4 separate regions of the Homo sapiens genome follow, and regions 2, 3 and 4 are each linked to region 1. The links are contacts of gene promoters, found by promoter capture Hi-C in blood cells and fetal thymus (Javierre and others, 2016). All regions are on one chromosome and are shown on one strand. Each heading gives the region's core, a stretch centred on a gene start or on the middle of the fragment in contact. The rest is flanking DNA. Distances are from core to core; before and after follow the strand shown. Region 1 holds the start of MNAT1 (MNAT1 component of CDK activating kinase). Region 2 overlaps MNAT1 (MNAT1 component of CDK activating kinase). Region 3 overlaps MNAT1 (MNAT1 component of CDK activating kinase). Region 4 overlaps MNAT1 (MNAT1 component of CDK activating kinase).

What was found. Contacts are between HindIII fragments. The CHiCAGO score rates a contact against its expected background, and 5 or more counts as called.
Region 2: a fragment that was not itself captured here is called in contact with the fragment with the promoter of MNAT1 in region 1 in 1 of 17 cell types (endothelial precursors); the score reaches 7.9 in endothelial precursors.
Region 3: a contact is called between a fragment that was not itself captured here and the fragment with the promoter of MNAT1 in region 1, in 1 of 17 cell types (endothelial precursors). The highest score is 5.4, in endothelial precursors.
Region 4: a contact is called between a fragment that was not itself captured here and the fragment with the promoter of MNAT1 in region 1, in 1 of 17 cell types (endothelial precursors). The highest score is 5.2, in endothelial precursors.

Annotation. Positions count from the first base shown.
Region 1 is chr14:60,733,361-60,736,101 of GRCh38, forward strand. MNAT1 (MNAT1 component of CDK activating kinase) reads left to right here and starts at 1,401. Exons shown (of 8, transcript NM_002431.4): 1 at 1,401-1,591. The coding sequence starts at 1,503. RefSeq lists enhancers at 1,415-1,514, 1,625-1,694. The HindIII fragment of the contact is 2,495 bases long and covers 799-2,741 here.
Region 2 is chr14:60,953,660-60,956,400 of GRCh38, forward strand. All of the region lies in intron 7 of MNAT1 (MNAT1 component of CDK activating kinase), which reads left to right. Among named protein-coding and RNA genes, the nearest start is that of TRMT5, 26 kb to the right of the region's middle. The HindIII fragment of the contact is 418 bases long and covers 1,151-1,568 here.
Region 3 is chr14:60,930,733-60,933,473 of GRCh38, forward strand. All of the region lies in intron 7 of MNAT1 (MNAT1 component of CDK activating kinase), which reads left to right. Among named protein-coding and RNA genes, the nearest start is that of TRMT5, 49 kb to the right of the region's middle. The HindIII fragment of the contact is 3,764 bases long and covers 1-2,741 here.
Region 4 is chr14:60,901,550-60,904,290 of GRCh38, forward strand. All of the region lies in intron 7 of MNAT1 (MNAT1 component of CDK activating kinase), which reads left to right. Among named protein-coding and RNA genes, the nearest start is that of TRMT5, 78 kb to the right of the region's middle. The HindIII fragment of the contact is 4,594 bases long and covers 1-2,741 here.

The sequences.
Region 1 (2,741 bases), core at 151-2,650:
TCATTCTTTCACCAGAAGTTTCTTGTATGTTATCAGCTGAGCTTACATGACTATGCAGTTATAAAGAAGTATAAAGCACAGGCTATTAAATGGTCCAAAATATAAAGTACTAGAGTTGCCTTTGTTCTTGAAGAGCTTCACTCTGAATCATGTAACTGGTCTGGATGTGGTCTTTCAATAAGACAATAGCAGCAGCATAATAAGCCTCCGGGTCAGCATAGTAGCATAGTATTTGGTGTTACCTATTTTAGTAAGTTTATGTTTGGTTAACTCCTGTTGAGGAACAATATTATGATCAAAGAGATGATATGGTTTATTTATTAGATGAATCCTTGATGTCTTCATACTAATGTAAAGCTCTGTCACAGCCTGCTTTGATCTGCTGGTTCCTGGGTGTGGTATCCAGCTGTTTGTCAGCATCCCTCTCTATACCCATGGAAATCCCAACTGTATTTTTGGGTTTTGGGTTCCCTACCAGGTTCACTGTTTAAAAATGTGAATTGAATATTACTTTTTATTGAAAAGAACACAAGTTCTATGATGAGTTAAAATTACTATAAATGTTTATAGCTTATACTCATTGTATCAGATTATTTGAAAAATCTAGTTTGCATGTTCCCTTCTGATGGAGTTTGGGTCAGATGAAGGTGGTTACAAAAAATGTTTGACACTAAAAATTTTCACATTACACTATTGTTTGATAGTCATTCATTAATTCTTCACTTAGTCTACTTACTCATTAAGAATCAACAAATCTTTATTTTGGAGATGAATAAGATGTGTCCTTTACAGTGGGAAAGCTTATTATTTAATAGAGCTGTTTACAGACTTCAATTTGCCTTCTTGATAAATGTGATGAACATGGTTTACAATTTACAAAGATATTCAGGCTATCAGATCTTGGAATTGCAGAACTAAATTTTTCTGTATGTATTCTTATATGATTTTTTCCTAGGTATTTGGGGAAATAAATACTGTCTGATGGAGTAGATAGCTTTTTCATATTTTGTATCTGCGAATGCATATTATCAGCTGAGCTGACATGACTATGCAATTATAAAGAAGTATAAAGCACAGGCTATTAAATGGTCCAAAAGAAAGTAAGTACACCGCTCATAAATCTTTGAAATCATGGGAATGTTTCCAGACAGAACAAGATGGAATTTATCTTCCTAATTGTGACACAGTACCTTGAAAAATGCAACTGGGTGCGTGGAGATAAGGCTTTGTATAATTTGCCATTTTAAAAGTTCCCCTGTCAAATTCAAGGTATTAAGTTGCTTTATGGAAGGCTAAGACCAAGCCCTAGATGCAAGACCGGGGGAACTGACTGCCGGAACGTTTGTGTTGCAGCGCCTCGCCCCTTGCCGGTGCTCTTTCGCGAAGGGACCGTCTCTGCCAAGCGCCTGTTGGTAGGAACCTGCTTGGTCGCGTCTGAGGGGGCTTGTAGGTGGCTCTGGCTGAAACAGGCGCCTGCGAGAGTCTGTAGGAGGGAAACCGCCATGGACGATCAGGGTTGCCCTCGGTGTAAGACCACCAAATATCGGAACCCCTCCTTGAAGCTGATGGTGAATGTGTGCGGACACACTCTGTGAGTTGGGCGGCAGTGGATTCCCTGGGGGAGAGACGCGCTGGGTGGGAGGAGAGGACCGGGAGATGCTAGGCCTCGTCTTGGGAGCAAAGGGCGTTGTTAGTTTCAACACTGGGGAGGAAAATGGGAAAAGAAGGCGTTGTGACTTTAAATAGACTGTAGCCGCTAGCCCCGAGCGGCTCTGGCCTGCTTTGAACTGCGGGTTCTCAGTGTGGCATCCAGCAGTTTGTCAGGTTCCCCCTTCCATAGCCAATGAGTATCCCGACTGTATTTCCAGGCTTTGTGTTGTTTACTGGGCTCTGGACATCGCTGATTAAAAGCGTGGGGGATTGGAGTGTTTATTTCATATGAAATGTTTTTATTGAAAAAGTGCGAAAGTGCTATGAAAACTTAAAATTTGCTTGAGTATATACTGCTGCTATTTATTGTATGAGTTAATTAAAAAACCCTGTGTGTATGCCCACTTGTCCTGATGGAGTTCGGTTAGACTCCCATCACTAAAATGAAGAAAACCCGGACTGTAGGTAGTTAATTTTGAAGATATAATAATGGCTGGCATTTGAGTGCACATTTTGTGCCAGACAGTGTTCTAAGCGCCTTACCATGAATTATCTCAGTTCATTCCTACAACAGTCCCATGAAGTAGATACTGGTATTTCCATTTCACAGGGAAGGAAATCGAGACTGCTCAAGGTCCCTTATTAAGTGGGCCTTGAGAGAATTGGAACCCAGGAAGTCTGACTTTAGAACGCCCATTTTCAGGGGAAGGGGGCAGAAGGAGGGAGGTTGAGTTTGTGTATTTTGAAACAGGGATTGGTCAAAGTGTTTCTTGCCAGATTTCTTGTCAGATGTGGTTTAGTGAAGGTGGTTCTAGAAAGCACTTTGAGATAAAAAGGTGCCATGTAATGGCGAGCATATATTCCTGTAGTTTCTTTCAGGTTTATTGGAGGCAAAAAATAATGGATAATCTACAGTGTGTAGACAAGGTCTCCTCCCAACCCCCCAAGTGCTGACAAAAATGTAGAGCAATGACAGGGTCTTTAGGTAAGCATAAATTGCATGATTAGCTGTAGCTATAATTATTATATGGAATTTATTAGCTTACTTAACTTTTCTAATTGATCTTTATTTTCCTTTGCTTTACTCTGCA
Region 2 (2,741 bases), core at 110-2,609, 220 kb after region 1:
TGCATATGGTAGTTCTGTTTTTAATTTTTTGAGGAACTTCCGTACTGTTTTCCATGATGGCTTTACAATTTACATTCTCATTAACACTGTACTAGGGGTTCTCTGTTCTCCACACCCTTGCGAACCCTTGTTATATATTGCCTTTTTCATAGTAGCCATCCTAACAGGTGTGAGGTGATACCTCATTGTGATTTTAATTTGTTTTGCCTGGTGATTAGTGATGTTAAAGTTTTTTCACATACCTTTTGGCCATTTGTATGTCTTCCTTTGAGAAATGTCTATTCCAGTCATTTGCCCATTTTTTAATCAGGTTATTTGTTTTCTTGCTATCGAGTTGTTTGTGTTCTTTATATATTTTGTATATTAGCCCCTTTCTAGGTTCTCTGTTCTGTTCCATTGGTGTATACTGTTTTTATGCCAGTACCAGGCTGTTTTGATTACTTTAGCTTTGTAGTATACTTTGAGATCAGGTGATATTTACATGCCTCTTTGTTCATTTCCTTAAGCTTTATTTGCCTATTCAAGGTCTTTTGTTATTCCACATGAATTTTAGGATTCTTTTCTCTATTTCTGTGAAAAATGTCATAAGAATTTTGATAGAAAAATGTGATTAGAATTCAGTGATGGAATCATTGAATCTGTTGATCACTTTGGATTTTATGGACATTTTATCAATGTTAATTCTTCCATTCCATGAATAAGGAATATTTTTTCATTTACTTTTGTCTCCAATGTCTTTCATCAGAGTTTTATAGTTTTCAGTGTATAGATCTTCACCTCCTTGGTTAAATTTGTTTTTAAATTGTTGGGGTTTTTTGTTTTGTTTTTGTTTGTTTTGGTAGCTATTGTAAATGGGATTGTTTTCTTGATTTCTTCTTCAGACAGCTCCTTGTTAGTGTATGGAGGTGCTACTAATTTCTGTATGCTGATTTTGCATGCTGAAGCTTTACTGAATCAATTAGTTTCAACAGTTTTTTGGTGGAGTTGTTAGGGTTTTCTATAAATAAGATCATGTTATCTGCAAACAGAGACAATGTAACTTTTCCTATTTCTTCTTTTGCCTAATTGCTCTGGCTATAACTTCCAGTATTATGTTGAACAGAAATGGCAAGAGTGGGCATTCTTGGCTTATTCCTAATTTTAAAGGAAAAGCTTTCAACTTTTAACAGTTTAGTGTGATGTTAGCTATCGTATTTTATATATATATGGCCTTTATTGTGTTGAGGTACATTCCTTCTATATGTAATTTGTTGATAGTTTTTATCATGAAAGGACGTTGAATTTTGTTAAATGCTTTTTTTATATTTATTGAGATGATCATATGGTTTTTGTACATTATGTTAATGTGGTGTATCATTTTCATAGATTTCCATATGTTGCATCCCTGTGACAAATCCTACTTGATCATAGTGTATTGATTCTTTTAATATGCTGTTGATTTTGGTTTGCTAATATTTTGTTGAAGATTTTTACATCTGTGTTCATTATAGATATTAGACTGTAATAGTTCTTTTCTTTAATATCCTTGTTTGGCTTTTGTATTAGGGTAATGCAGGCCTCATAAAATAAGCTTGGAAGTATTGTCTCCTTTTCAGTTTTTAGAAAAATTTGAAGAAGGATTGGTATTAATTCTTTTTTGAACATTTAGGAGAATTCAGCAATGAAGCCATCAGGTTCTAAGCTTTTCTTTAATGACATTAAAAAAAAAATTATAGATTCAGGCCAGGTGTGGTGGCTCACACCTGTAATCCCAGCACTTTGGGAGGCCGAGACAGGTGAGTCACCTGAGGTCAGGAGTTGAAGACCAGCCTGGCCAACATGGTGAAACCCCATCTCTACTAAAAATACAAAAATCAGCTGGGCGTGGTGGTGGGTGCCTGTAATCCCAGCTACTGGGAGACTGAGGCAAGATAATTGCTTGAACCCAGGAGGCGGAGGTTGCAGTGAGCCAAGATCGCACCATTGCACTCAAACCTGGGCAACAAGAACAAAACTCTGTCTCTAAATAAATAAATAAATAAAAGATTCAATCTCCTTACTTTCTATTGGTTTGTTTACAATTTTTATTGCTTTATAATTCAGTCTTGGTAGGTTGTCTGTGTCTAGGAATTTATCCATTTTTTCTGAGTTCTCCAATTTATTGGTGTATAATTGTTTAGTGATTTTTTTCATACCTATGTGGCCTCAATTGTAATATCTCCTCCTTCATTTCTAATTTTATGTATTTGAGTCTTCTTTCTTTTTTCTTAGTTAATCTAGCTAAAGGTTTGTGAGTTTTATGTTTTTAAAAAAACCAACTTTTAGTTTCATTGATTTTTTTTCTTTCTATTGTATGTCTAATCTCTATTTTATTTCTACTCTGATCTTTATTTCCATCCTGACTGTAACTTTGGGCTTCCTTACACTAACTAGTTCTTTAAAGTGTAATATCAGGTTATTTGAGATTTTTTTTCTTTTTAAGTATTGTCTTTTATTAGTATAAATTTCTCAGGACTGCTTTGGCTACATACCATAAATTTTGGTGTGTTATGTTTACTTTTTCATTATTCTTAAGATATTTTTCTTGAGAATCAAAACTTCCCTTTTGATTTCTTCTTGAACCATTGATTGTTCATGAGTGTGTTGTTTAATTTCCACGTTTGTGAATTTTCTAGTTTTTCTTCTGTTACTGATTTCTAGTTTCATATCATTGTGGTTATAAAAATTACTCAATATGATTTCAGTCTTACTAAATGTGTTAA
Region 3 (2,741 bases), core at 172-2,671, 200 kb after region 1:
GGGAAATGTAAGTAGTTCAGTCTGACTGGAGCACAGGGTTTGTAACATAAAGTGACAAGAAACTAGTTAGGATCAAATCATGAAGAATCTTATTTATCATATTAAGTATTTTGAGTAATACTCCTTTCCCCCTTTTTGTTCCTGTGTGTCTTAAATCAAGGTTGAAAACCACTGCTATCTCAGTAACTAGGCTCTGAACCATACACTCTTAGTAATAGGTAGCTATGGAAGACGTTTAAATAATTGAGATATTCAGATTTATATTTTAGAAAAAATACTTCTGAAGGCAGCAGTATGGATCATGTATTTGAGAAGCCTGAAGTAAAATAAAGTGCCAAAATAAGAGAGTTGTAAGCAGTGAGGATGGAGTTGAGGGAATGGATTTGAGACTGAAGGGATAGAATTGAAAGGACTTGGCCACTGACTTCAGGTGCAGGGTAAGGAATGAGTCTAGGAAAATTCCAAGGTTTTTGGCTTGAGTGTCTGGATGGCTCTGTGATGACTTTCATAGGGTTCAGGCTTCCTTCAGAGTTTTGCACAGCCTATAGAATATGCCACTTAGACACAAGTCTTTGTGTGAGAGCTGCAGCAGGGATCTGAATGATTAAGGCAGCTGCTCAGGCTTGCTTTCTCACTACTCACTTTTGTTGCCTGTGTCAGGGAAAGGCCAGGGAGAGAAATAATTGGGGACAGGGACTGCATTTATTCTGCTGCCAGAGAGTATGTGCAGCTGCCGCTTCCTTCTGATTCACCACTACCACTTGCCACAGCAGCTGGGCTGGACCAAAATAGGTAGACTGTAAAAGATTCTGTGATAACAAAGCCCATTGCAGCACTGGGTGTAACTTGAAATGTTTTTTATTCATATTTCTCTAACTTTTTTCTTATTTCAAAAATATGTCTGTAGATACATATCGTAGACCTGAATTGTATATTTAATATGTAAGACCCTTAATATTTTTGATTTAGTCAGTGTGGGAGAATAGTACTACTTACTTTAATGCATATATATATATGTGTGTATATATATGGTGTGTGTGTATATATCTATAACCTTTGACACTCTGAAAAGAGCTGCTTAATTGTCAAGGTAGAAGATTTTAAAAACATCCTCAAAGTTTTTTTTTAAAAAAACAATGGTGAATTAATTATATACTCCCTTAGATACTGAGCCTACTTTTTAAATTTTTTAATTCAGTCATTTTGAGAATTAAGTGTGTTATTTGTCCATTGAATTAAGTTTGTGTGTAAATATTTGCCATTTCTAGAATATTCATACTTCTTACTCTTACTAATTTTTTCTGATAAAAACTTCATATTATAAGGATGTTAGTTTTAATCAATTTTATATTATCAAGTTTTCTAGTATATGTCTTTAATTTTTGCTTGTACAAACCTATATATTAGGTTACATTAGAGTTCTGTTATCTTTTTTCTTATGTAAGTTTAGTCTAAAATAAGACTGACATACTAGTTTTTAATTCGCTCATATTTCTTAAATTTTTGTTTCATTTGTAGTATAAAATCACTTTTTTAGAGAATAATATTTAGTTTTTCTTCTATCCTTGTAAAACTACAGCAGCCTTAAATTATGCTATAGGTGTTCATTGTTGGTTCATCATAAAATAATTAACACTTGCATTCCAGAACTGTAATTCCACTTAGTACAGCATTTCATTTCATTTTTTTAAAAGAGGTTTCCATTTTTAGAAAATTTGGAGGTTTTTTCCCTCCTTTAAAGACATGGTTAAATAATGATTAATATAGTTCAAGAAACTGTCTTACGTGGAGTGTGCAGGTATTTCAGCTCTGTTTTTTTCTTTTCTTTATTCTTTAAATGTTAGATAGATTTTAGTTTACCACTTTAGAAAACTATTTTTAACTGTTTTTATATATTTATATATCTCATACTGAATGCCAGGTAAGAATTTTATTCTGCACTACTGACATTAATTCCCAATAGTTAAACATAATAGATGACCATACAGTTGTTATCTATTTCTTATCCTGTGCTCTAGGATTTATCATTTTTAAAGCTATGTGTTAGAGATCATACTTATTTCTGAATAGCTAAATATCAGTGTTTTTGCATCATAATTTGGTGTATACTGTGTTACATTTTCAGAAAATTTGATTTGATAAATATAACCATAATCTTAAAAACAAAACTTTGAAGATATATGAATCACTTTGTAAATAATAATAATATGCAGTACAGTGTAGGAGTTGAGAGAATTTTTGGAATTATATTGCCTGAGTTCAAATCTTGGCTGTTTTGCTTGGTTTATAACCCTAGGCAGGTAACCTACCTAACATTCTGTGTCTTTGTTTCCTCCTTTATGAAATGGAGATATCTAATGGGGTTGTTTTGAGTACTAAATGAGGTAATATATGGAAGAGCCTAGAATACTGACTGGTAGAATATTGAAGTATAATATAGAAAGTCCGGTCCCTTAGAATCTATTTGTATTATACTGATTTTAGGTCTATTGAGATTTTCTACCTTTCCTTTCTCTCCTTTTTTTCTTCTTCTAATTTGATCAATTAGGCATATCGACACAATGATAAATTGTTGTATTGCCGTTCTTCCGTATAATTTTGGCATTTAGTTCAGTGTAGCATTTATTTCCTAATTATTGAAATAAAAATTCAGTTTATCTTTAAGGAAGACTACTTGGTTTTCTGATGTTTTGAAGCAAACAAAGTAGCGGGTAAGATGTTTTGTCCCAGTGATTTTATTT
Region 4 (2,741 bases), core at 100-2,599, 170 kb after region 1:
GAAACAATTCATTACTCTAGAAGCCATTAGGAATATTTGTGCATTAGGAATATTTGTGATCCATGGGAGGAGGTCAGAATATCAGCATTATCAGGAATTTGAAAGAAGTTAATTCCAACCCCATGTTTGAGATTTTGTTGGAAGAAGTAACCGCAAATGGGGTGAAAATAGCAAGAAAACTAGAATTAGCCGTGGAGACTGAAGATATGACTGAATTACTACAGTCTTATAATAAAACTTGAACAAATGAGAAACTGACTCTCAGGGATGAGTAAAGAAAGTGGTTTCTTGAGATGGAATCTGCTCCTGGTGAAGATGCTGTGAACATTGTTGAAATGACAACAAAAGATTTAGAATATTATATAAACTGAGCTGATAAAGCAGTGATAGGGTTTGAGAGGATTGCCTCTAATTTTTAAAGAAGTTCTGCTGTAAGTAAAATGCTATTAAACAGCATTATGTGCTACAGAGAAATCTTTTGTGAAAGGAAGAGTCAATCAACGCAGCAAACTTTATTATTGTCTTATTTTAAGAAATTGCTATGACCTCCCCAGTCTTCAGCAACCACCATTGTGATCAGTAAAGCAGATATCAACATCCAGGCAAGAGCTTTCATCAGCAAAAAGATTAGGACTAGCCGATGGCCCAGAGGATCATTATCATTTTTCATTAATACATAATCTATTTATTTGGGATTTTAACTACATTTGCAAAATCATTTTTTATATATAATATAATCACAGCAATGAAGACTGTCAAATTGATGGTCCTATTTATACCCAAGGACTGAGAATTATGCAAGGAATGGATACAACGGGGTAGAATATTGAGGGCCATGTCTAAATTCTGCCTACTACAAGCGAGATAGGTTTTCTCTTGCTACTTATCTTTCTCAAAATATTCTAAGCATTTTTATACATTTATACTTTGAAGTAAACTTTGTTGGCAAAAGCAACAAAGCACTCCATAATTGTTTCAAAATTTGTGTACATTTGAAAATTTTTATAAAATACTGTGAATCAAGTAATGAAACATCAAAAGCCACCAACAACTTAGCTAATAAGATACATCCATCCCCCTATATAGTAATCAAACACCAATCCTTTTGGGATTGTACCTGGAATTTAAACTTACAATCTGATCAGAGAAGAATGGGCATTTAAAATATACTTAGTTTTTATATATATCACACATTTCTTGGAAATTAATTTTCATTATATTCTACTTTTGATGCTGTTGTGATAAAGTTTTCATCATGCTTTCTAACTGGTTCTTGCTGTTATATATGAAAACTATTAAATGTAATTTTCTACATAATATTTTACTGAATTCTAATAGTTTCTATACCTAGTTCTATTAGGTGAATATCTGGGTTTTTATCTAGGAGTCAGTCAGCTGAAAAAAAATTTTTTTTCTTTTCAATGCTATATTTGTGACTTTAGGTTTATATTTTATTGTATTTTGGCTAGAACTTGTAGAACTTTTAGACCAAGTATAATTCTAATAACTGTAGTTTCTTTCTGTTTTTTTTTCTGGTGAATGCCTCAAGTGTTTCATCATTAAGTATTATATTCGCTGTTTAAGTGTTTTTTTGTATCACATATATGTATTTTCTAAATCACAATGAAGGAATTGCATCATGAATATATATTAAATCTTCGTCTTCACATTTAATTTTATTGAATGCTTTTATGCATCTATTGATGTAGTTTTTGAACCTAATGGTGTATAATATTATTAAAAATTTTTTCAATAGCAAGTACTTCCTATATTCCTAGATAGCTACCTACCTAAAATAGCGTTTGGGAAAGGTAGAATTTCAGCTGAAAACTTCAAGTTCAGGAAATTTGTTTTAAATGGATTAGTTTACGTTCTACCAGTGAAAAATAATTGAGGCAATCTATAATACTTTAAAAATCTTAACACTTAAGAAATTTAAATTTAATCAGCTATATGAAAGCATAATTCACATACAATAAAATACCTATTTTATTGTATATTCCAATGAGTTTTGACAAACACATCCAGTTTGTAACCACCAGCACAGCCACGATATAGAATATTTGTATAATCTGCTTTCACTGTGATTGTGCTTTTTTCTGGAAATCACTTAGAATTTTTACATATGAAAGTGTTACTTATATTCCAAAATTTCCATGAGAGAATGTGGCATTCTGTATACTGCTTTTTGGTCATAGTCTTTACCTTCGTCTTTACCTTATAATATTGACTTATTATATATGGATTGTGTAAGAATGGTGAAAACGTAGTTGTTTCATTTAAGTTTTGTTTTGTTTTTGATGCTACCCATGTAAGTTTTTTTTTTTTTTTTTTTTTCTTTTTGATGGAGTTTCTCTCTGTCGCCTGGCTGGAGTGCAGTGGCACAATCTTGGCCTACTGCAACTTCTGCCTCCCACGTTCAAGCAATTCTCCTGCCTCAGCCTCCCGAGTAGCGGGGACTGCAGGCACCCGCCACCACATCTGACTGATTTTTGTATTTTTTAGTAGAGATGGGGTTTCACCATATTGGCCAGGCTGGTCTTGAACTCCTGACCTTGTGATCCACCCGCCTTGGCCTCCCAAAGTGCTGGGATTACAGGCGTGGGCCACTGTGCCCGACCTTAAGTTTATATGTTAGTTTTACAGAAAGTCTTGGGGCATCAGAAAATCAAAGAATGTGGAAAAATACAAAAATCACAAAAAAACTGCAATATGCATGTGTATATAACATATAATTTATA